Regions from separate parts of the Homo sapiens genome. Here regions 2, 3, 4, 5 and 6 are each linked to region 1. Evidence: promoter capture Hi-C in 16 types of primary human blood cells and fetal thymus (Javierre and others, 2016). All regions are on one chromosome and are shown on one strand. The core of a region is centred on a gene start or on the middle of the fragment in contact, and the rest is flanking DNA. Distances in the headings are between cores, read along the strand shown. Region 1 holds the start of CAMK1 (calcium/calmodulin dependent protein kinase I). Region 2 holds the start of TATDN2 (TatD DNase domain containing 2). Region 3 overlaps VHL (von Hippel-Lindau tumor suppressor). Region 4 overlaps SETD5 (SET domain containing 5). Region 5 overlaps LHFPL4 (LHFPL tetraspan subfamily member 4). Region 6 overlaps FANCD2 (FA complementation group D2).

Evidence for each region. Contacts are between HindIII fragments. The CHiCAGO score rates a contact against its expected background, and 5 or more counts as called.
Region 2: a contact is called between a fragment that was not itself captured here and the fragment with the promoter of CAMK1 in region 1, in 9 of 17 cell types (naive B cells, erythroblasts, monocytes and 6 more). The highest score is 8.3, in naive B cells.
Region 3: a contact is called between a fragment that was not itself captured here and the fragment with the promoter of CAMK1 in region 1, in 1 of 17 cell types (monocytes). The highest score is 6.3, in monocytes.
Region 4: a fragment that was not itself captured here is called in contact with the fragment with the promoter of CAMK1 in region 1 in 1 of 17 cell types (neutrophils); the score reaches 5.4 in neutrophils.
Region 5: a contact is called between a fragment that was not itself captured here and the fragment with the promoter of CAMK1 in region 1, in 2 of 17 cell types (M1 macrophages and M2 macrophages). The highest score is 6.1, in M1 macrophages.
Region 6: a fragment that was not itself captured here is called in contact with the fragment with the promoter of CAMK1 in region 1 in 8 of 17 cell types (naive B cells, monocytes, activated CD4 T cells and 5 more); the score reaches 9.9 in naive B cells.

What each region holds. Positions count from the first base shown.
Region 1 is chr3:9,767,734-9,771,868 of GRCh38, forward strand. It overlaps CAMK1 (calcium/calmodulin dependent protein kinase I), which reads right to left and starts at 2,214. Exons shown (of 12, transcript NM_003656.5): 1 at 2,099-2,214; 2 at 1-48. The coding sequence starts at 16. It also overlaps a transcript of OGG1 not described here. RefSeq lists a silencer at 1,985-2,164. The HindIII fragment of the contact is 10,493 bases long and covers 866-4,135 here.
Region 2 is chr3:10,247,288-10,251,422 of GRCh38, forward strand. It overlaps TATDN2 (TatD DNase domain containing 2), which reads left to right and starts at 1,172. Exons shown (of 8, transcript NM_014760.4): 1 at 1,172-1,780; 2 at 1,908-2,327. The coding sequence starts at 1,914. RefSeq lists a silencer at 1,058-1,487 and an enhancer at 1,740-2,608. The HindIII fragment of the contact is 1,674 bases long and covers 891-2,564 here.
Region 3 is chr3:10,146,847-10,150,132 of GRCh38, forward strand. VHL (von Hippel-Lindau tumor suppressor) reads left to right here. Exons shown (of 3, transcript NM_000551.4): 3 at 2,941-3,286. The coding sequence ends at 3,119. Among named protein-coding and RNA genes, the nearest start is that of VHL, 6.7 kb to the left of the region's middle. The HindIII fragment of the contact is 5,547 bases long and covers 1-3,286 here.
Region 4 is chr3:9,465,940-9,470,074 of GRCh38, forward strand. All of the region lies in intron 18 of SETD5 (SET domain containing 5), which reads left to right. Among named protein-coding and RNA genes, the nearest start is that of SETD5, 70 kb to the left of the region's middle. The HindIII fragment of the contact is 1,914 bases long and covers 1,467-3,380 here.
Region 5 is chr3:9,495,420-9,499,554 of GRCh38, forward strand. It overlaps LHFPL4 (LHFPL tetraspan subfamily member 4), which reads right to left. Exons shown (of 4, transcript NM_198560.3): 4 at 2,942-4,135. Among named protein-coding and RNA genes, the nearest start is that of LHFPL4, 56 kb to the right of the region's middle. The HindIII fragment of the contact is 1,526 bases long and covers 1,466-2,991 here.
Region 6 is chr3:10,030,109-10,034,243 of GRCh38, forward strand. It overlaps FANCD2 (FA complementation group D2), which reads left to right. Exons shown (of 44, transcript NM_001018115.3): 3 at 2,724-2,864. Among named protein-coding and RNA genes, the nearest start is that of FANCD2, 5.7 kb to the left of the region's middle. The HindIII fragment of the contact is 752 bases long and covers 2,056-2,807 here.

The sequences.
Region 1 (4,135 bases), core at 964-3,463:
CCACTGCCCCCAGCATGGCCCACTGCCCCCCGACCACAGCCAGGGCTCCTGTAAGGAGAATGGAAGGAGGAGACTCAGCAGAGCCCAGCCCTCTGTCTGGGAATTTACTGCAGGCCCCATTCAGTCATTCAACCTGCATTTATTCATCCTTGATTCATCCATTTGACAAAATCATTCAACAAACATTCATTTGTTTATTCAACATTCAGCAAATTCTCATGCCTAGAGAAAAACCTTTCACAGTGGCAGCAAAATTCTTTATTTAACAAAGTCATGCATTCATTCATTCATTTATTCTAGTTCTCTTCCCAGTTTTCCCCCTATCCAAATCCAAGCACCTAGGGAAACCCTGACTTCTGGCAGTACAACAGATAAACCCCCAGAGCAGCTGGTAGAAGCCTGGAGGATCCCCCTGTCCCCAGAACCAGTGATGTCCCCGCCCCACCCTGGGGATTGCTGGGGTGTCTCCTTTCCCTCCTCCTTCCCCCGACTCCCCGGCCTCTCCGAAATCAGGTTTCCAGCAGCCTGGGCTTCCAGCAACATCTCAGCCACATTTTTAAATAGCTCTTTCTGCACTGTTACCACAGCAACAACAGCCACAGCTGGAGCTCCCCAGACCTCTCCCTCCTGACTCCCCATCTGGGTCCCGGGAGCATGAGAAATGGTCCTGCTCACTCTGTCCCTTCCTGGCCCCATCTAACCCTATCCAGCCTGGCCCTTCCTCTGCTGAGGTCTGTCTCATCCAGCAGGAGAGGGTGGGAGTTCTCTCCCATTTATCAGATGAAGAATGGGGAGACTGAGGTTGGAGTTAGGTAGAGGCTGGCTCCAGAGGCCCTAATGACACCTGGCCTGGGGCCCCCAGCTAAGCTTGCTGAGGGCAAAGGCCATCGAATGGCCTTGGCTGGTACTTCCAATATGAAGCCAGAATGGGCCCCATTCAGAGAACACAGCCTCCCAACCCATCCACAGATGAGGCCAAAACAGAGCCCAGCATGCTTTGTGACCTCAGGGAGAGCACTTTCCTTCTCTCTTTTTCTCTAAGGGAGAATGAGGAGAAGGTGCCCTGACTAGGGCCTCTGGTGTGAGATTCCACTCCTGGAACAGGACCTTTTTCCCAGGGGACCCTGCCCACCCATCCAGGGGCAGAATCTTCTAGGAAAGGAGACTCGAGTGTAAGCTCTAGAGGCAGAGTCTGAAACCCACATGGAGGCCTACCAAATACAACCCTCACAGATCCACACACATCCCTGTAGCAGACATGCCACACCAAGCCCCCTCCACAGCCCTGAACTCAAACACCTGCCTCCCAGATCCAGTACGCCTTGTATCCACATCCCGTGACACCTGATCATACATGTACTCCCAGACATCAGCACACATGTCCACACCACACAGTGCCCCAGACAGCCCTGCACCCGAACACCTGCCTGTCCATCCAAACATCCCTCACCCAGCTCCCTCTTACACCCCAAAACACACATCCACCCGCACCCACACAAGATGACACCCAGACACACACACACACACCCTCATATACCAGACGTACCCTACACCCTCCAGCTCCTCTACCCCATCCCCTGGAAGCTCCTGTATTCCAAACCAAACCCCAAGTCCTTACACACCTAACTCCAAACATCCTCAGTACACAATTGTACACCCCCTCCTAACTCTGACTTAAGACCCTGAGAGCCAAATACCAGCACACAAAACACGTGGACACCCCTCTGGAACAAAAAACACACAGATTCCCAGATCCTCCACCCATGTCTGACCCACACGCCTGTCCTAAGACAGTACACTCCGCAAGCCCCCCCACCCCATGGATACCTCCAAATGCCCACGCCCTTCCAGTCAGGCCCAGCTGAAGGCGCTCACACAGGCCCCCTTCTCTATTACCCACTCAGTGTCCCATAGGCCCGCCTGGCACCTGCTGGGCCTGGGACAGAGGTGGAGAAAGGCCCAGCCCTGCCCCTCAGGGTCCAGCCCGCCCGGGAGAGTGCCCAGTGGCCACTCCTTGGGAAAGGATACCCAGAGGCTAGGGGCTCCCACCGCCCCCACGCAGCGCCCAGGGGTGCAGGGATGGGGGGCCCGGCTGTACCTGCGGCTGCCCCGCCGCGGGGCTGGCTGGGAGGCCCGCGGTGGTTGGCGCCGAGCTGTGGCCGCGGTCCTCACCGCTGCGTGCCTGGGCCACCCGCCCGCGCTCTTGCTGGAGCTGGGGCTCGGCTCGGCTCGGCGGCTCTCTCCGCCCGCCTGCGGCTCTGATGTCAGTGGAGGTGGAGCCTGCGGCGGAGGGACCCGGGATTGGGAGGCGAGGCACCGCTCCAAGGCTGGGGAAGGGGCACGGGTGGAGGCCATCTCCCTGCTTCTGGTCAGAGATCTCCTGCTGGACGCTTCCCGCCCTTGGTCTTAAGCGGGGTCCATTTCACAGAGGGGACAACTGAGGCCCGGAGAGATGATTTTCAAATCAGCGGGTGGTCGGAAGCAAAGCAGGATTCGAACCCCGTCTGTCTGAAGCTAGAGGCCGGCCAAACTCACCCTGTGGCCTGGTGGATTTTCTTTCAGACCAGTTCTGCGACCTCCCTTAGGGCTCTGTCTCCCTTCTCCGTGCCCTGAAGGGAAACAGGCCCTGGAACTGCACGGGAGTCTGGTGGGGGATGGGGGAGTGAGGGAGTGGGGAAGGACCGGGCAAGACTAGGCAATGAAGAGAGTGGAGGTGGTCGCAGGGTGTGGGCCCCACTTGACAGGTGGGAAGACTGAGGCCCCGGTTCCTCTGCAAGATGGAGCTGAGGCTTCAGCCCCAGACACTTGCTCCTCAGAGCGGGTGGTGGTGCCTAGAGGTATTGGGGGCAGAGGGAATTGGGGAGGAGGAAGTTAAATCGGGATCCTGAAGGAAACAGGCCAAAAAGGACCGAGGTGTCACGTGACTGGCGGGGCTCCAGAGTTTGATGGCTGGGGTCCAGGTTAGGGGAGAGAGCCTGCAACTAGGACGGCAGGCAAGAGGCCAAAGGTCGGTTTGCTCAAGGCCTTCCTTGGGAAGAAATTTGGTGCCGAGTGGAAAGAGGGGGCGGGGGGAGCAACTCGCAGGAATTGGGGATGGGGCTGAACTGGGGGCAGCCGGAGGAGGCACGTTGCTTGGGACCCCACTCCACCTCCAAGGGCCTCCAAGTGCCACTCCCTACTCCTGAATTCTTGCATGTTCCAGCTGGTGATGGGGAGAGAACAGTGCTTATGCCCAGCTCATTTCCTTTTTCTCTTTCTTTCTTTCTTTTTTCTTTCTTTCTCTTCTTCTTTTTTTCTTTTTCTTTTTTTTTTAAGACAGGGTCTTGCTCTGTCACCCAGGCTGGAGTGCAATGGCATGATCACGGCCCACTGCAGCCTCAAACTCCTGGGCTCAAGTCATCTTCCTACCTCAGCCTCCCATGTAGATGGGACTACAGGTGCGTGCCACCACACCTGGCTTTTTTATTTTTTGTAGAGATGGGGATCTCACTATATTGCCCAGGCTGGTCTCAAACTCCTGGGCTCAAGCAATCCTCCCCAATCAGCTTCCCAAGGTTCTGGAATTACAGGCATGAGCCACTGCACCTGGCCAATTTATTATGCCCATCTTACAGATGAGAGAGGAAGATAGCTGAGGTTCCTGGAAAGGCTTTGGAGTCTAACTGATCCTGGTCATGCTTTACCTCTCCGAACCTCAGTTTCTTACTCGGGAACATGGGAATATTGAAGATTGACTCAGAGTTCTGAGAATTCTATGATATAATGATATGAAGTGCCTAGAACACTATTCAAAACATGAGAGCTAGACTCAGTGTAAACTGAGACTCAGAGAGAGGACTTGATTTGGCCAGGGATGAGGGGTTAAGGGATCCATCTTCCAAATCTCAGTATCTCAGACTCCTTAGTTCATGGAAAAATACATTTCCTGCTCAGGGCTGAGCCCCCACTCTCCCCTATACCCACCAAGCACACCCACTGAGCTAGGGGTTCTTTTACCACAAATTCCTGTTCATCTTGATGACAACACCCCCTGGGTGATAAGATGACCTCTGTCCTTTCGAGGACTTGTACAACTTCTTTTTTTTTTTTTTTTTTTTTTTTTTGAGACAGTCTCCCTCTGTTGCCCAGGCTGGAG
Region 2 (4,135 bases), core at 478-2,977, 480 kb after region 1:
TTTTTTTTCCCTGAGACAGGGGTCTCACTTTGTCTCCCTGGCTGGAGTGCAGTGGCAGTAATCTTGGCTCACTGGACCCTCGACTTCCCAGGCTCAAGGGATCCTCCCACCTCAGCCTCCTGAGTAGCTGGGACTACAGGCGCCCACCACCACACCAGGCTAATTTTTGTGTTTCACTAGAGACAGGATTTCACCATGTTGCCCACGCTGGTCTCGAACTCTTTGCCTCAAGAGATCCACCCACCTCGGCCTCCCAAAGTGCTGGGATTACAGACGTGTGCCACTGGACCCAGCCTCCTTTGCCAGTCTTAATACTAAGTTATTTTATTATTTTGGGAGAATTGCTACATCGAATATCAGCCCTTTGTCATATGTTTCGAGTATTTTTCTGAATTTGTACCTTGTCTTTGATTTTTTTTCTTTTTTGAGACAGGGTCTTGCTCTGTCCTCCAGGCTGGAGTGCAGTGGCGGGATCACAGCTCACTGCAGCCTCGACCTCCCGGCCTCAAGTGATCCTCCCACCTCAGCCTGAGTAGCTGGCATCACGCCCAGCTAATTTTATTTTTTGTAGAGATGGGGGTCGCACCATGCTGGCCAGGCTGGTCTCTAACTCCCGAGCTCAAGCCATCCTCCCGCCTCGGTCTTCCAAAGTGCTGAGATTGCAGGCGTGAGACACCGTGCCCAGCCGTCTTTAATATTTTTCACCAGGCGGATAGTTCACATTTTTGTGTAGTCTTTTTTTTTTTTTTTTTGGTGCCTTCTAATTCTAATTCTTCCCATTTCTGGGTGTGTACTTAGTCTCTCTGAGCCACAGTTTTCTGCTCTATAAAGTGGGGTGATAATGCTCAGTACACGGTTTGCTTTGGCTCGATGAGAAATCCAGGTCTGAAAGCTTCAGGTACAGCGGCCGGCGCTGAGGAAAACAGCGTTAAGTGAGGCGCGTCAGCGGACACCACCTGCCTGCACATCTGGCTGGCCTCAACTTCCCGCTGTTCGAGCCCACGTGAGTGGCTCCGCCCCATCTGGCTTCTGACCAATGGACGAGCTTCCTAAGGCGTACCGTCCCGACTCCAAGGCGCCTGGCTTTGAGGCGGGCTGCGTCTTGCTCGGAGTCCCGCCCCTTGCCGGGTCGAGCAATGGGCGCCTTCCGTTTGGCGCAGGCCCCGCCCCTGTCGCTCTCCGGCCTGCGGGCCGCAGGGCTCGTTCCGGAGGGCGGGCGCCACGGAGGCCGGAGTGGTCGCAGTTCGGGCGGAGGCCGGGCCAGGCGGGGCTGTAGGGCTGGGGCAGGCGGCGGGCTGCCCGGCGGGACAGCTGCGGCAGCCGGCGGGGGGCGTCCTGAGTTGGCGGTCGAGGGCGCTGCCAGCTCCCGAGGGGCCGCTCGGGCCCCTTCCGGCCCGGGTCTGGTTGGGCCGCAGGAGCAGGGCGGGCTGCGGCGCCCGGGTCTGGCCCTGGCCTACGGGCTAAGCGCCCGGCCCCGGGGCCGCGGATCCGGCAGCCATGTGTGGATCTTGAAGCGCCATGTGGTCTTCTGAAGCGCTTGACAGTTCTAAAGGGCTTTATATTGCAAACTGATCAAAGCGCTTCGTAGCCCCGGAAGCGCTTAGGCATCTCCGAAGTAGCGCTGGGCAAAGTGAAGGCTTCCTGATCTCAGAAGCACGTTGTGGGCTTGGAAACCGACGGCAGCCTTTAGTCAATTTTGGATCGCTTTGACTTCTCCAACACGGTTTGGCATCTCTGAAACCTTGAGAACTGTGATGGGCAGTGGAAAGAAGAGGGAAAGGTCAGTGAGGCTAGCCCCTGGCTCTGCCCTTATGTCTTGCCGTCCTCCTGGGCCCGGGGTGGCGGGAATCTGAGGTGGGGTCGCCAGGAAGGGTGGTGTTGGAATCCAGGCCCCCTGTACCTTGCAGGTGCCCATGGCGTCCGAGCGGGGCAAGGTCAAGCACAACTGGAGCAGCACGTCGGAAGGGTGTCCCCGCAAGCGCAGCTGCCTCCGGGAGCCCTGTGATGTGGCCCCCTCCAGCCGGCCAGCTCAGAGGTCTGCGTCGCGTTCTGGAGGGCCCAGCAGCCCCAAGCGCCTGAAAGCCCAGAAGGAGGACGATGTGGCTTGCTCGCGGAGGTTATCCTGGGGCTCATCCCGCCGCAGAAATAACTCCTCCTCCTCCTTCTCCCCACATTTCTTGGGCCCTGGTGTGGGCGGGGCCGCCTCCAAAGGCTGCCTGATTCGGAACACTCGGGGGTTCCTGTCTTCAGGGGGATCCCCTCTGCGTCCTGCCAACGCCTCTTTGGAAGAAATGGCTTCTCTAGAGGAGGAAGCCTGCAGCCTTAAGGTAGGTGGCTGCCACGCTTTGCAATCGGTGAAGCCCCTTCCACATGGCTTGAGAGGTTGGGGATGGGAATTTTGGTGGAAGGAGACTACAAAACATTACATCCTTGAAGGTCTGGAAGGTCTTTCTAGAAGTCCACTCCCCCCAAACTCGAAGACCTAGCAGTCTTCCAGGCGCGTGGCCTGAAGTTAAGTAGAGAGGTAATTTTCAAACTCGGCAGCACTTTGGAACTACTTGGAAAGCTTTAAAATACTTGGGCCTGCCTCCTACTCCAGAGAAACTGATTTATTGGGCTGAGGTGTGGTCTGGGCTTCCAGATTTTTCAGTGCTCCCCAGGTTATTGTAAACGTGCAGCCCCGTTGGAGAATCACTGCAGTAGAAGGTGGATTATGTGCTCAAGAGAAGAATGTATTTATTTTAGTTGTCAGTTTAAAGAATTGTGTGCCCTTGTACTTTGAACCACTCTGAATCACAGAACCAAGAATTGCGGTTCTTGGTGTAGCTTTTCTCCAAAGTCATAGTTTCCAGCATGTTGGGGTTTTGCTTGGTGGTGCTAGTTTTTTTTTTTTTTCTTTTTTTTTTGGAGGTTAAATTGTTAATTCCCTAATGGAAACATGCAAGAGGGTTTCATAAGTACTTTGAGCAGACCAAGGAGTGCTTCACAGAGAAGATACATTTCGCTCATCTACTCAATCAAGGCTTTGAACAAATATGTGTTGAGGGTTTAGTTTGTGCCAGGCAATGTTCTAGGTGTTTGGGATTCTTTACTAACAAAACAGATCACTTTCCCCTTAGAGTTTGCATCCTAGATTTTGAAGGTCTGAGTCTTAAGAAGTGAGAAGTTCTGCCTGTGGAGGAGTGGAGAAACAGTCTTATTTGGGATCAGATGGGCTGCCTCTAGAGAAAATTACTTTACAAAAGCAATTAAAACAGGCCCTAAGGAATATGTGTTTGTTTTTAAGCCTAGCCTTGGTGGTTTCTTTTGTGTAGCTGAGAAAGGAGGCTGTATTTGACTGTTTGTCTTGGGGACTCATAGGCTAAGTGCCCCTGGTTTTTTCAATGTGGACCTCACTGTCTGAACTCTTGTGTGGGCACGTGGATTTTTTCTTTTTAAATTCACAAATAACAGTGAGTTGAAAAGCCCTGTCTCTAGCGTAGGAATGCTGAATTTGTCTCAAATCAGGTAAGTATGGGACTTTGCTCATACAAGTTAATCTTGCCATTAATCCTTGATACAATTTCAGTAGACTTGGGTACAGCATAAAATAATACCAGTTGATTCAATTTAGCTTCACTGACAATTTGTAGATAGAGTGAAACCTGTTACTGGGAGAGGCAGGAAATTTACTTTACATAGTCTTTCAGGTGTGCTGAATCCCTGGCTGTCCTAAAGACCTGGAACTCAGGTTTGAGGGTGTGGTCTCTAATCTGGGTGGGTCTAATTGTAGGTGGACCCACCTTTCTCTCATTAAGGCTAAAGGGGCCTTGTTTTGCAAGAACCCAATTTAATGGTTTCAGTAGAAGCACTTGAGGGTTATTGTGGGCCACGCACTGTTGGGTCTGGGAGTGATGAGCTTCTAGGGAGCAGTCTGGTGGGAGGGCTGGAGGAGTGGTCGCATGACTGCCCACAATGTGGTATGATGGAGTAGTGAGCCCAGAATGGAGGCTGGAGAGCGAGGTAGGGGGTGGATTGCAGCAAGGTTTTAGTAGCCAAGGGAATTTGGATTTTATCCTAAGGACAATGGATTTTATTCTAAGGGACAATTCCCTTAGAATTGTATTCTCTTTTTTTGAGACAGATTCTTACTGTG
Region 3 (3,286 bases), core at 787-3,286, 380 kb after region 1:
GGCTCTTAAGAGACAAGCGAAATTAAAGTATCATATCATAGGTTAGTTTTGTAGAATTGTAGAATTACGAATGCCTTTTGTTTCCCTGGCCAAATTGTGCCCTGGAGTTCCAGGAGAACAATGTGTAGAGCATGAGATATTTTGGCTTATTTGTTGCTGACTTCTAATTTTTTTTATTTTTTTGAGACAGAATCTCGCTGTGTTAGCTAGGCTGGAGTGCAGTGGCGCAATCTCGGCTCACTGCAACCTCCGCCTACTGGGTTCCAGTGATTCTCTTGTCTCAGCCTCCCGAGTAGCTGGGACTACAGGCGTGTGCCACCCACTCTGATAATTTTTTGTATTTTTAGTAGAGACGGGGTTTCACCGTGTTAGCCAGGATGGTCTCCATCTCCTGACCTCATGATCTGCCCGCCTACGCCTCCCAAAGTGCTGGGATTACAGGCATCAGCCACAGCACCTGGCCTATGTATTTTCAATTTAACACAATCAAGCTCACAGTGCCAATCAGAGGTGTTTTTTTTTTTTTTATTTTTATTTTTAGAGAGTCTCACAGTGTCATCCAGGCTGGAGTGCAGTGGTGCGATTTCAGCTCACTGCAACCTCTGCATCCTGGGTTCAAGTGATTCTCCTGCCTCAGCCTCCTGGGTAGCTGGGGTTATAGGTGCCTGTCACCACACCTGGCTAATTTTTGTATTTTTAGTAGAGATGAGGTTTCACCATGTTGGCCAGGCTGATCTTGAACTCCTGACCTCAGGTGATCTGCCCACCTCAGCCTCCCAAAGTGCTGGGATTACAGGCGTGAGCCACTGCGTCCAGCCTGTTTTTTTTTTTTTTTAAATCATTGAAGATTGGTATAATACTTCACTATTTGTTTGAAGCTCAAATGATTTTATCAGGGTAAACCCTAATAAACTGATGTTCCTGTGGGTAAAAAAAACCTCACTAAAGACCAGCAGTGTGTGGTGGCTCCTGCCTGTAATCATGCCTGTAATTCCAGCACTTAGGGAGGCTATGGCGGGAGGGTCGCTTGAGACCAGGAGTTCTTGACCAGCCTGGACAACAAAGTGAGACCCCAGCTCCACAAAAAAATTTTTTTTTAATTACCTGGGCATCTTAGCATATGCCTGTGGTCACAGCTATTTGGGAGGCTTAGGTGGGAGGATCCCTTGAGCCCAGGAGTTTGAGGCTGCAGTGAGCCATGATCATACCACTGCACTCCAGCCCAGGTGACAGAGTGAGATCCTGTCTCAAAAAAAGAAAAAAAAAACTCAAAAACCCCCCAAATACATGGGTTTCATAGGATTCAAACTACTATGTGTGTATAGATCCTGTTTTAAGGAAGTAGATATATAAAAATGAGCATTGCTAAGTTAAATTTGGTAAATTTGCCTTATAGAATACCCTCGAGTACGTTTCCAGTGAGTGTAAAATAGGAATTGGGATACCCAATTCAGTTGTACTAGATTTTCTTTTTTTTTTTTTTTTTGAGACGGAGTCTCGCTCTGTCGCCCAGGCTGGAGTGCAGTGGCGGGATCTCGGCTCACTGCAAGCTCCGCCTCCCGGGTTCACGCCATTCTCCTGCCTCAGCCTCCCAAGTAGCTGGGACTACAGGCGCCCGCCACTACGCCCGGCTAATTTTTTGTATTTTTAGTAGAGACGGGGTTTCACCGTTTTAGCCGGGATGGTCTCGATCTCCTGACCTCGTGATCCGCCCGCCTCGGCCTCCCAAAGTGCTGGGATTACAGGCGTGAGCCACCGCGCCCGGCCTAGATTTTCTAAGTACACATTGTTTTGGTTATGTGTTTTGTGACTACCACCCCAAAACTAATAACCACCTTTTTTTTTTTTTTGAGACAGAGTCTCACTGTGTCACCCAGGCTGGAGTGCAGTGGCGTGTGATCTTGGCTCACTGCAACCTCTGCCTCTCGGGTTCAAGCGATTCTCCTGCTTCAGCAGCTGGGACTACAGGTGTGCACCACCAAGCCTGGCTAATTTTTTGCATTTTAGTGGAGACGGGGGTTTCACCATGTTGACCAGGCTGATCTTGAACTCTTGAGCTCAGGCAGTCTGCCTGCCTCAGCCTCCTAAAGTGCTAGGATTACAGGCGTGAGCCACTGCGCCCAGCCCACCATTTTATTTGTTCATAATTCTGTAGTCCAGGCTGGGCTCAGCTAGGCAGTTACTCTGCTGGTGGTAGTCGTTGGTGTGGCTGCCTTTTGCTGGCAGCTGGGGGCTGGGCCTGTCCCTCTTTTTTTTTTTTCTCTTTTCTTTTTTCTTTTTTTTCAAGATAGGGTCTCACTCTGTCACCCAGGTTGGAGTGCAGTGGCATGATCTTAGCTCACTGCAACCTCTGCCTCCAGGGCTCAAGTGATCCTCCCACCTCAGCCTCCCCAGTCGCTGGGACCACAGGCATGTGCCACCATGCCTGGCTAATTTTTTGTGTATTTTGTAGAGACGGGGTTTCGCCATGTTGCCAGGCTGGTCTCGAACTCCTGAGCTCAGGCGATCTACTGACGTTGGCCTCCCAAAGTGTTGGGATCACAGGCATGAACCACCATGCCTGGCCAGGGCCTGTTCCTCTTTATGTGGTCTCTCTAGCAGGGTAGCTCAGGGCTTTCAAAAGTATAAAAGCAGAAGTCAGCAGGCCTTTTTAAGGCTTCGGCCTAGAATTGCCAGTGTCGCTTCATCCACATTCAGTTAGTTAAAGCAATCACAAGCCCAGCCCATTTCAAGGTGAAATTACTACAGAGGCATGAACACCATGAGGTGTCCATAGGGGGCCATCAGCATAACACACTGCCACATACATGCACTCACTTTTTTTCTTTAACCTAAAGTGAGATCCATCAGTAGTACAGGTAGTTGTTGGCAAAGCCTCTTGTTCGTTCCTTGTACTGAGACCCTAGTCTGCCACTGAGGATTTGGTTTTTGCCCTTCCAGTGTATACTCTGAAAGAGCGATGCCTCCAGGTTGTCCGGAGCCTAGTCAAGCCTGAGAATTACAGGAGACTGGACATCGTCAGGTCGCTCTACGAAGATCTGGAAGACCACCCAAATGTGCAGAAAGACCTGGAGCGGCTGACACAGGAGCGCATTGCACATCAACGGATGGGAGATTGAAGATTTCTGTTGAAACTTACACTGTTTCATCTCAGCTTTTGATGGTACTGATGAGTCTTGATCTAGATACAGGACTGGTTCCTTCCTTAGTTTCAAAGTGTCTCATTCTCAGAGTAAAATAGGCACCATTGCTTAAAAGAAAGTTAACTGACTTCACTAGGCATTGT
Region 4 (4,135 bases), core at 1,174-3,673, 300 kb before region 1:
GAATAGAGTGTCATACTTTATCAATACAGGTTTTATTATAAATGTGGAATTATGAAAATTAGAAGGAGGCCGGGCGCAGTGGCTCACACCTATAATCCCATCACTTTGGGAGGCTGAGGCAGGCGGATCACGAGGTCAGTAGATCAAGACCATCCTGGCTAACGTGGTGAAACCCCGTCTCTACTAAAAATACAAAATATTAGCCGGGCGTGGTAGTGGGCGCCTGTAGTCCCAGCTACTCGGGAGGCTGAGGCAGGAGAATGGCGTGAACCCGGGAGGCGGAGCTTGCAGTGAGCCGAGATCGCGCCATTGCACTCCAGCCTGGGCAACAGAGCAAGACTCCGTCTCAAAAAAAAAAAAAAAAAAAAAAGAAAATCAGAAGGTAAGTCACTTTGCAAAACAAGCGGGTTCAGTACTCAGTGTGTTCCTTATCCCTTGTAGCATTTGGGATAACTATTAAACACTGCAAATATAAAGTGGTTTTGGTTTTGTTTTGTTTTGTTTTTTTTAATTGGTGATCATTTTAATAATACAGTCCATGCATAATGTTAGAATACCAGGAGGGAAGGAAAATATTAAATAGTAAAAGGTCCAAGGCATGGTTTCACTTGCAATTTAAGGAAATTTTACCTTTCTCATCAATAATAGAACAGATTTCACCACCCTGACCCATTCTAATCACCATTTTAATGGCCATACTCTTTGCTGTATTCTAGTACAGAGAGGTGGGGAGCCTTTTTTGTAGCAAAGGCTGTGACACATTGTGAAATATCAAAAAGGTGTCACGTATAAAGACCAGCTTAGGCTGGGCATGGTGGCTCACACCTGTAATCACAGTGCTTTGGAAGGCTGAGGCAGGAGGATTGCTTGAGGCCAGGGGTTTGAGACCAGCCTGGGTAACATCGTGAGACCACATTTCTGCAAAAATAAAATACAAAACTTAGCCAGGTGTAGTGGCATATACCTGTAGTCCCAGCTACTTGGGAGGCTGAAGCAGGAAGATCACTTAAGACCAGGAGTTTAAGACTGCAGTGAGCCATTATTGTGCCACTACATGCCAGCCTGGGCAACAGTGAGATCCCATCTCTAAAAATAATTTAAAGACCAGCTTAGGCCAGGTACAGTGGCACACACCTGTAATCCCAGCTACTCGGGAGGCCAAGGCAAAGGAATTGCTTGAGCCTGGGAGGTTGCAGGGAGCCAAGACTGCGCCACTGCATTCCACATTCCAGCCTGGGCAACAGAGGGAGACTCTCTCTCAAAAAAAAAAAAAAAAAAAAAAAAACAACCTTACTAGATTAGTTTGGGGAAGGATATTTTTGAGAAGGAAAAAAGCATTCAGGAAAATGGTGAGAAGTCTTAAGTGCTAAGGGGAAGAAGGTAAGAAGATAAACAGTGGAAGAGAACAAGATCTTCAGGAGGGGAAAGCATCTAGAAAGAAGAGTGGAAGCAACATTGGGAGGACAAGCTTAGTTAGCCTCTCCTTTCTACCAGAATAACCCTCCCCTCCTATTCTTGCCCTGAGAGCCATACTCCACCCGCCATTTCACACATACGTGCACCTAGATGTACACCACCCACTGTCCATGCCAAGTAAAATTCACAGCCAAAACCCTGCTTTGCTGAAGCAGCCTCATTTCCCCTACCTCAGCATGTGCCTGCCACCTAGGCCACAGTTATTCAGAGTCTACATTAGGCACCCTCTCCTTACCTCAGCCCTAGCACCCCTGAGTCATTGTCACACTACCACCTTCACTCTCTTCACGTGTTCCCATTTACATCTTTCCATTAAGCACTCACTGCTCAGTCTCTGTTATGGGACTGCTGCCTCACCTGAAAGTCCCAAGGTAAAGTCCTACCCTCTGTAGGATACAGGGACCTAAGTATACACATACATGCTTTTTCTGCTCTGTTGCCAAAAGTACAATGGATTTTACAAAATAACATTAATAGGGGTGGCTCAGGTCTAATTAGATTATGCCAAGAACCAACTCTAGCCTGTGAGCTAGGGATTCCATCAATCACATTTCCTGTAACTGTCATTCAAGAGGAACTGGCCATCTCCCTAACCATGTCAGCCCCCAGCACACTAATGTCTCCCCCTGGATAGCACTGGGAGGGCCTGAGGCATATAAGAGAATAAAGAAATGTGACAAGCAGAAGAGGCATTGGATGAAGGAACAAGGTCCATGTAAGGAGGAATAAGGGGTAGGGTGCCCCTCAATAACAAATACTGTAGGTTGCTAAACTCTCATCTAAAATACAAAGACGTATAACACTAAAATTTCACCAGTCTAACTCTTTCCTTGTATGTGCTTGAGATGTTTACTTACAGCATGAAACATTATAACCAATTTATCCTTAAATGCTTTCAGAGATACCAGGAAGCATTTTAACAAGTCATTCTGTCCATTGAGATGAGTTCTGCAGTTAAATATTTCCCCTATGCATTCTTATTCAACTTCCCCGCCCCCGAAAAAAGTTATGGCTAACATCTATGCTTGCTTTTATTTTTTGTTTTGTTTTGCTTCTTGACTTCGAGTAGATGAATAATAACAAGATGCTTTTCCCTCCTCTAGAACATATCCTCCCCTGAGAGTTCCCCTGCGCATAGGCCCGAGTCCCTGTCACCCGAGGTAGTTATCACACCATCTCAATCACACTTGGAGGCTGAGAGTGAGTGTTCATGAATGTGTTCCTGAGTGTGTGGGGAGGGCTGGGGATCTGAGTCAGTGGGGTGATGGGCTGGAGGGCGGCCACTCAGTCACAGTAAGTTGAATGAGTCTTCCTGTGTGACTGTGACTACACAGGACTGTCAATGTAGATGGAGGAAAATGAAGGTAGGAGCGTGTGTGTTTGTGTGTGTGTGTGTTGTGTGTGTGTTTGGTGGGGTTGGTTTTTGCCGTTTGGGGGAGGGGGTGGCTGGAGTTCTATTAAAGAATAGAATCTAGAAGTCAAGATGCTGATATGTGGTAGGAGCCTTGTTAAAGAAAGGCTAATAAATCAGGAAAGTTGAGTCAAAAGTTGTAAGAGCTGTTTTTTGAGTTGGGTGGTGACTTATGCCTTGTTCTAGGGTTAATCTAACAGCTCTGTAAACCAGATGTTTTGACCTTTGGTTGATAGATTGAGCAGCTTCTTCAGGAAGGGAAAGTCATTCTGTCTTTCAGCTTTCCTACATTTTCTCTGCAGCTCCTTACTGGGTGCACAAGGAAACCAAGTGAGTCCCTGGCTTTCTGTCACAGGCCACCATTCTGCAATGGTTAGGATATGGTTGCTATACAAGTGTTATCTCTTTAGGATATCAGTAGAGTGGTTTTCTCACAAACCCTACTGCTGTGGATATGTCAAACTCAGATTTTAGTGCTAGAGTTTCTATTATAAGCTTTCAGATTTAGTAACATTAACTCTGAATCTATTAATACATGGGACCTTTTTTCTCTTGAAGAGAAAGTTAGAGTCTCTCAGAAATAGTCAACTGAACTTTAACCCTATCCCCTTCCAATAAAAAATTAGGGCATAATTCAGTGACAGTCTACTAAGTTCTGAATCAGTAGTAGTTCACAGGTTAATATGAAACTGAAAAAGGTTTTATTCCACTAGTATATTAGAGATTTTCTTGGTGTTTTGACTCTAGCTTGTTAGGAAAGTAAAGCTCTCTCTCCTCAGTTGTTAAAGATTCTAAGATAACGTAATTTGAAGACTGATATGGTATGGTATCTGGTTTTCTGGTACCATTCTTTGTCGGTTAGCTGTAGTTGACCTAGTGTTGGAAGTTTGGAGGTTATGATAACCAAATAGTAGGTGGGGTTTATTTTTGGTACATTTCAGCATTTCAGAATCTGCAGTGATGAGCATTAGTGGTCTTGTGGTATGTTGACGTACATTAGAGGATAAAGAAGAATTGAGTGGCCAGAAAGTTGTATGAGAAACACAGCTTCTTTAACAGTGAAAGTGAGTGAAGAACTGGTTGGTTGATGTCTTTAATGCCATCCTCCTTTACTGAACCAGTAACTTAAGTACTTGCCTTTCCGTCTACCTTCTCCTTCCTCCACCTTTTTCCCTTCCCCCCACCTTCCATCAATATTAATTTAGAAATTGATAACCCCGGAAGCCAGTTATCTTAAGACACCAGTCT
Region 5 (4,135 bases), core at 979-3,478, 270 kb before region 1:
TCGCTGTTTGTCCCCACCAAACCTCATGTTGAAATGTCATCCCCAGTGTTGGCGGTGGGGCCTGGTGGGAGGTGAGTGGATCATGGGGGTGGGTCCCTCATGAATGGTTTAGTGTCATCCCCTTGGTGATGGGTGAGTTCTCGCACAGTTAATTCACACACATGAGATCTGGTTGTTTAAGAGCCTGGGACTGCCCTCTTCTCTCTGTCTTGCTCCTGCCCTTGCCGTGTGACACGCTGGCTTCCCCTAACCTTGCACCATGATTGTAAGCTTCCTGAAGCCTCACTAGAAGCAAATGCCAGCAACATGCTACCTGTACAGTTTGCAGAGCCATGCGCCAAAATAAATCTCTTTTCTTTATAAATTGCCCAGTTTGGCCAGGTGCAGTGGCTCATGCCTGCAATCCCAGCACTTTGGGAGACTGAGACAGGAAGATTGCTTGAGCCCAGGAGTTTGAGACCAGCCTGGGTAACATAACAAGACCCCGTTTCTATAAAAAATTATAATAATAAGGCCGGGAGCAGTGGCTCACGCCTATAATCCCAGCACTTTGGGAGGCCAAGGTGGGTGGATCACGAGGTCAAGAGATCGAGACCATCTTGGCCAACATGGTGAAACCCCATCTCTACTAAAAATACAAAAATTAGCTGGGCGTGGTGGTGCACGTGTGTAGTCTCAGCTACTTGGGAGGCTGAGACAGGAGAATTGCATGAACCCGGGAGACAAAGGTTGCAGTGAGCTGAGATCATGCCACTGCACTCCAGCCTGGCAACAGAGTGAGACTCCATCTCAAAAAAAAAAAGAGATAGCCAGGCATGGTGGTGCCTATGGTCCCAGCTACCTGGGAGAATGAGGTGGGAGGATTGCTTGAGCCTGGGAGTTGAGGCTACAGTGAACTGTGATCTCACCACTGCACTCCAGCCTGGGTGACAGAGCAAGACCCTGTCTCAAAAAAATAAAAATAAATTATGCAGGCCAGGTGCAGTGGCTTATGCCTGCAATCCCAGCACTTTGGGAGGCTGAGGCGGGTGGATCACTTGAGACCCGGAGTTTGAGACCAGCCTGGCCAACATGGTGAAATCCCATGTCTACTAAAAATACAAAAATTAGCCGGGTGTGGTGGTGCACACCTGTAATCTCAGCTACTCAGGAGGCTGAGGCAGGAGAATCACTTGAATCAGGGAGGCTGAGGTTGCAGTGAGCTGAGATTGTGCCACTGCACTGCAGCCTGGGCAACAGAGGGAGACTCCATCTCAAAATAAATAAATAAAACAAATGATGCAGTCTCAGGTATGGCTTTATAACAATGCAGAAATGGGCTAACAGTCTACCCCTAATCCAGCCCCCTAATGCTACCACCAGAGTGCTCTTTCTAAAATGCAAATTGAGTCATTTTTCCTTCTGCTTCAAATCCTTCAGTGGTTCCCCATTGCTCTTAAGTCCAAACTCCTGTCCATGGCCCCCAAGCTTTCTCATGGTCTGGCCCTCGCCTGTCTCTCTAGACTCATCTCTGACTCCTCCCTGCCTCGTACTTCACATTTCAAACTAAGTTGCTTTTCGTCCTCCATACACAGTTCTGCTGCCTACCTCAGTCTTTTTCCTCAAGCTGCCTTCTCTTTGACCTTCCTGACCCCTCCTGCCTAACTTCTCATCCTACAGCAAGACCTCCTCCTACGCTGCCCACGTCACCAAAAGCCATTTAAAGTATTCCTGCCTAGGATACCCACAATACCCTGCATGTGGCAAGTCATGCGTTATTTTCACATGTTCATCTCCCCAACCAGAATTATGCTTAAGACAGCATCTCTGTTTTGCTCATTTTTTTTCTAGCTTAAGTGCTTAGCATACACTAAGTGCTTAAAATGTGTTGGAAGAGGACTCCATTTCCAAGTCTTCAATGTAGCTACCTGGTACTGCGCACATTACAGCGTGCCAGATACCCTGCAGAGCAAAGTGCATATATTCCCTGGTATGTTGCTTACAGCTTCCCTTGGGGGAGTCACTATTGTTTTCTCTATTTATTCAATGGGGCTTTAGAGAGAGGCAAAGTGACTGGACTGAGCACTCTGGCTAGAGCAGATGAGGCTCTACTCTTTTCTGCCTGTATGGACTTGGACAAGTCGTGCCTGTGCTGTCAGAGGTGTGCAGAGATTACTGTATCCCTCTCTCTATTCACTCCTTTCTCCTTTGTATCAGAACCCTATTTTTTTTTTTTTTTGAGACGGAGTCTTGCTCTGTTGCCCAGGCTGGAGTGCAATGGCGCCATCCCACCTCCCTGCGACCTCCGCCTCCTGGGTTCAAGCAATTCTCCTGCCTCAGCCTCCTGAGTATCTGGGATTACAGGCACGCACCACCATGCCTGGCTAATTTTTGTATTTTTAGTAGAGACAGGGTTTTGCCATGTTGACCAGGCTGGTCTCAAACTCCTGACCTCAGGTGATCCACCCACCTCAGCCTCTGAAAATGCTGGGATTACAGGCATGAGCCACCTTGCCCGGCCAAGAACCCCAGTTTTATTTGGGCTGGCAATGCGCCGAGATAACAGACCACACTTTTTCAGCCTCCTTTACTGTTATGTGGCCCAAGTGACACAGTCCTATGGAATTTCCAGAAGTCTTCAAATGAAATGTGGACCAGGTGACTGGAGCTCCAGCAGCCCACGTTGGGCCATGAGGTGTTCTTGAGGATGTAGCCAGGATTGAAAATGGCAGTGCAGAAAGATAGGAGCCTGGGTTCTGGATAACACTGAGAGCCATATCAGCCGTGATCTACCCACCTCCAGGCTTTTTTTTTTTTTTTTTTTTTTTTTAATGTGATGGTAAAATAAACTATCTTGTTAAGCCACAGTAGTAGGGTTCTGTTAATACCAGACAAACCTGATCCATAGGGTTGGAATCTTACCCCTCTTGATCCCAGTGACTCAGAGAAGTGGCAGCCAGCGTGGGTGATAGAAAGTGTTTCTTTATTTGAATGTCATTCCACCTGCACTGAAGCTTAAACCCAGCAGCAGCAGAAGGGGTCAGGACCAAAATAAATGTTACCAAATTAGACAATGAACAGCGAGGACACACTCAGACAAAACTTACTAATGGGGTATAGACAACACCAAGCTATCCTAACAGCACACAGCACAGGCCCTCGGAGGCCTGCCCATCAGAGCTCTGCGGAAGGCTCCCTTGTTCCCTGTTCAGGAAACTCCAGTCCCACCCAAAGGTTAGCCGTGGGCCAGGCAGGGGCCTGCAGAAGTTTCTGGTGCTGGGAACATCCCAGCTTCTCCAAAGACAGGGTTTCCCTTTCTCTTTCTCAGTTCACACTGGAAGCTGGAGAAAGGTTATTCCCCGTGTGCCCAAGCAGGATGCTCAAAAGGCCAGGGACTCTCCCCACAGCCTTATCTAAAAGTTCTCATCATCTTGGCTATCAGGCCTGAAAAGGATCTTGATTCTTTGGTCCTCACCCCCTCAGGAAAGTTTTCCTTCATGGGTACCGGTCCCCAAAGACGAAAGTTTTCATAGCCCCGGTTCCCAGAAGGACTCAACTGACCAGACTGTGGGCCAGGGACTGAACCACCCCTAGGCTGTGGCTGCCGTGGCCTCTCCTGAGTCCCCAGATCAGGCAGAGAAAAGCGGGCAATGGCAGACCCCTGATCACAGTTAGGGGGGTCACAGTTAGGGGGGGACTTCTCTTGGGACCTGAAGCCGGAAGGCTCTAGGTTGGAGCCCAACAAGGCCCTCCTGGGGTCAGAAACAGGCACTGATCTCCTCTGCTTACCTCCTCCTGAAGGCTAAAGCCAGATCGCCCGACGAGAGCAGAGGCAAACCACAAAGCCCCCTTCCCATGATGTCTTTATTGCCCCAGGAGGGCCATCAGGGCCTCACCTGGGGCCCCCACTGGAGCACCTGCCACCTGCCCCATCCACACCTCTGCAGAACCCAGGGCCCCAGTCTATGGTTTGGTCCCCACTCTGACTTCTACCCCTTGCCTGTGTCACCCTGGGGTTCCCGCAGACTTCAGCCCACACAACTCTGCCTTCCTGACTCCAAACTCCCTGGTGCATCTCCCCCTGGCTCTGCCAAGATGGCAGCTGGCCAGGTGCGGTGGAATGGGAATGTTGCCAGGCTACCCCACCAGGGAACTA
Region 6 (4,135 bases), core at 1,182-3,681, 260 kb after region 1:
TTTTTGAGATGGAGTTTGGCTCTTGTTGCCCAGTCTGGAGTGCAGTGGCACAATCTTGGCTCACTGCAACCTCCGCCTCCCGGGTTCAAGCGATTCTCCTGGCTCAGCCGCCCAAGTAGCTGGGATTACATGTACATGCCATCATGCCTGGCTAATTTTTGTATTTTTAGTAGAGAAGGGGTTTCACCGTGTTAGTCAGGCTGGTCTCAAACTCCTGACCTCCGGTAATCCACCCACCTCAGCCTCCCAAAGTGCTGGGATATCGGACGTGAGCCACCATGCCTGGCCTCATTATGTCATTCTTAATGCCTTTGCATTCTCATAGCTTAGCTTCTACTGACTTGTGGATTGAAGAGTTATTTCTTACTAGGTTATTGGAAGTTAAGTCTGATTCTTGGTCAATTCAACCGAAATAGATGAAAATGCTTGCTGAACAGTGATTATAATGATAAAAATTGTGAGTCCAAAACCATGTAAGGAATAGGCTTGATTTAGAAACGGAAACTGTGGGCCGGGCACAGTGGCTCACACCTGTAATCCCAGCACTTTGGGAGGCCAAGGCGGGCAGATCACCTGAGGTCAGGAGTTCAAGATCAGCCTGGCCAACATAGTGAAACCCCATCTCTACTAAAAATACAAAAATTAGCTGGGCGTGGTGTCACGTGTCTGTAATCTCAGCTACTCGGGAGGCTGAGGCAGGGGAATTGCTTGAACCCCGGAGGTGGAGGTTGCAGTGAGCTGAGATCACGCCACTGCCCTTCAGCCGGGGCAACAGAGCAAGACTCTTATCTCAAAAAAAAAAGGAAGTTGTGAAGCTCCAATGGTTGATTAGTAATGGGGTTCTAGAATTAGAATATAGAGAAATTGGTAGAAAATTTGAAACTGAAGAGGAATAATATAGGAAATTACTGAAAGTAAATGTTATACTTTGGAAATACTGTTCTCCAAAAGAGAAGAGACTTCTGAATTAAGTTTATTAGAAGGGATTTGGGTTCTCTTGGTCAGTAATGAACAAACTGAAACTTTCATTCTGGTTGTGTTTTACATTTCATTCAGGAAGGTAGTGGTCTTTGTCTCATTCTGATTAAGGCTTTATTAGAAAGAGGGAAAGGAGGCCAGGCACGGTGGCTCACGCCTGTAATCCCAGCACTTTGGGTGGCCAAGGCGGGCAGATCACGAGGTCAGGAGATTGAGACCATCTTGGCTAACATGGTGAAACCCCGTCTCTACTAAAAATACAAAAAATTAGCCGGGCGTGGTGGTGTGCACCTGTAGTCCCAGCTACTGGGAGGCTGAGGCAGGAGAATGGCATGAACCCGGGAGGCGGAGCTTGCAGTGAGCCAAGATCGCGCCACTGCACTCCAGCCTGGGCGACAGAGCAAGACTCCATTTCAAAAAAAAAAAAAAAAGAAAGAGGGAGAGGAATTGAAGAAGGAAAAAACAAAATGGCATCATTAAGGGAGAAGAGTAAATTTTAAACTTGGCTTCAAGTACCTGTTTGTTTCTTGTTTCTTATTTCTTTTTATGGGTTGAAAGTCTTGGGATTAAACCTATCTGAGCATTGTAGTCAAAGATATGATACAAAGAACCTTCCCCATTCTGTCTACCCTTTATTCAGATCATTGAGTCTCAAATTTGGTGTGTATCAGGATTATTATCTGAAGAACATAAAAAATTCGGATTCCTAGGTCCCATTCCCAAGATTTTGACTCAGTAACTCTGGTATATGGCATGGAATATGCCTTTTTTTTCCTTTGAGACAGAGTGTCACTCTGTTGCTCAGGCAGGAGTGAAGTGGCGCGATCTGGGCTCACTGCAACCTCTGCCTCCCGGGTTCAAGTGATTCTCCTCCTCAGCCTCCCGAGTAGTTGGTATTACAGGCGCACGCCACCACACCCAGTTAATTTTGTATTTTTAGTAGAGATGGGGTTTCACCACGTTAGCCAGGCTGGTCTTGAACTCCTGACCTCAGGTAATCAGCCTGCCTCGGCCTCCCAAAGTGCTGGGATTACAGGCGTGAGCCACTGTGCTGGGTCGGAAATATGCATTTTAATAAGCTTCCCAGGGATTCCAGTACAGTGGTTTGCAGGCAACAGCTTGAGAGACACTGGCTAGTTTAGTATTTGGGTGGAAAACATTTCTGTGGGTTATTCTTGTTAGGCACTTATTTGTTTGAATTTATTTTTTTAGAGATGGGGATTTCACTCTGTCACCCAGGCTGGAGTGCAGTGGTAATATCATAGCTCACTATAGCCTCAACCTCCTGGGCTCAAGTTATTCTTCCGCCTTAGCCTCCGAAGTAGCTGGGACTACAGGTGTGCGTCTCCTCACCTAACTAGTTTGTGTGTGGAGGGGGGGAATGGGGGTGAAGGGGGGGAGATGGGGGGGTGGTCTCACTTTGTTGCCCAGGCTGGTCTTGAACTCCTGGCTTCAAGTGATCCTCCTGCCTTGGCCTCCTAATTTGCTGGGATTACCACATGAGCCACCTTGCCTGGCCAGAAATGGCACATTTTGAATTCTTCAAATGAAAATAGGTGAAAATAATTCTATTTGTTTGTTTTGGAAGCCACTATTGCTGAAGACAGTTTATTTCACTACAGCATCAATCCTAGTATAATTTTTAAGGACACATCAGTTTTCCTCTCATGATTATTATTCCTGGGTTTAAGTTTTAATTTTTCCTTTACTATTTGCCATATTCTTGAAAATTTTTCTATTTTCAGAAACCAGGAAGCAACCACTTTCCAAAAAGACAAAGAAATCTCATATTGCTAATGAAGTTGAAGAAAATGACAGCATCTTTGTAAAGCTTCTTAAGATATCAGGAATTATTCTTAAAACGGGAGAGAGTCAGAATCAACTAGGTAATATTTTAATCTAATTTTATTCTCTGGGTTTAATGAAATAGTTCAGGACTGAATCATGGGTTTTCTAAATAGAGAGGCAATGAAGATTAGAAATCAGAGGGCCATCCATCTTGAGACAAAGTTGAAATTGCTTTTTAGAAAATGGTACAGTCAGGCCGGGCGCGGTGGCTCACGTTTATCATCCCAGCACTTTGGGAGGCTCGAGGCAGGCGGATTGCCTGAGCTCAGGAATTTGCGACCGGCCTGGGCAACACGTCTCTACTAAAATATAAAAAATTAGCCGGGCATGGTGGCATGTGCCTGTAGTCCCAGCTGCTTGGGCGCCTGAGTCAGGAGAATTGCTTGAACCCGGGAGGTGAAAGTTGCAGTGAGTCAAGATCGCACCACTGCACTCCAGCCTGGGCGACAAGAGTGAGACTCCATTTCCAAAAAACAAAAATGGAAAAAGAAAATGGTACAGTCTTTGGTCCTCATTACTATGTCTTAAGTAAAGCATTTCTCATCCTTTTATTAGAAAAAATATTATATATTATTTATTTTGTGTTTTCTTATGAAAAAATAAATATCCAGAAAGCAGCTGTATCAGTGTCAGAATAATTTCAGAAGAAAATTTATAAAGCCATATAAGATTCTGTTTTGGGGGAGCAGATTATTCTATCTTGCTAAGGTTATGGCAGGTCTTTTTTAGAACACTTAGTGGCTATCTGCTATCAAAGCTAAGTCTTTTTTTTTTTTTTTTTTTTGAGACGGAGTCTTGCTCTGTCGCCCAGGCTGGAGTGCAGTGGCGCGATCTCTGCTCACTGCAAGCTCCACCTCCCAGGTTCACACCATTCTGCCTCAGCTTCCCAAGTAGCTGGGACTACAGGCGCCCGCCACCATGCCTGACTAATTTTTTGTATTTTTAGTAGAGACGGAGTTTCACCGTGTTAGCCAGGATGGTCTTGATCTCCTGACCTTGTGATCCACCTGCCTCGGCCTCCCAAAGTGCTGGGATTACAGGCATGAGCCACCGCGCCCAGCCAAAGCTAAGTCTTTTATGTGGGTTTAGACACAACCCCATGACTCTGGGCTGGGCACAGTGGCTTATGCCTGTAATCCCAGCACTTGGGAGGCTGAGGAGGGTGGATCACGAGGTCAGGAAATCGAGACCATCCTGGCTAACACAGTGAAACCCTGTCTCTACTAAAAATACAAAAAACGAAACAAAACAAAAAAAAACGTGTCTGTAGTCCCAGCTACTTGGGGGGGCTGAGGCAGGAGAATCATTT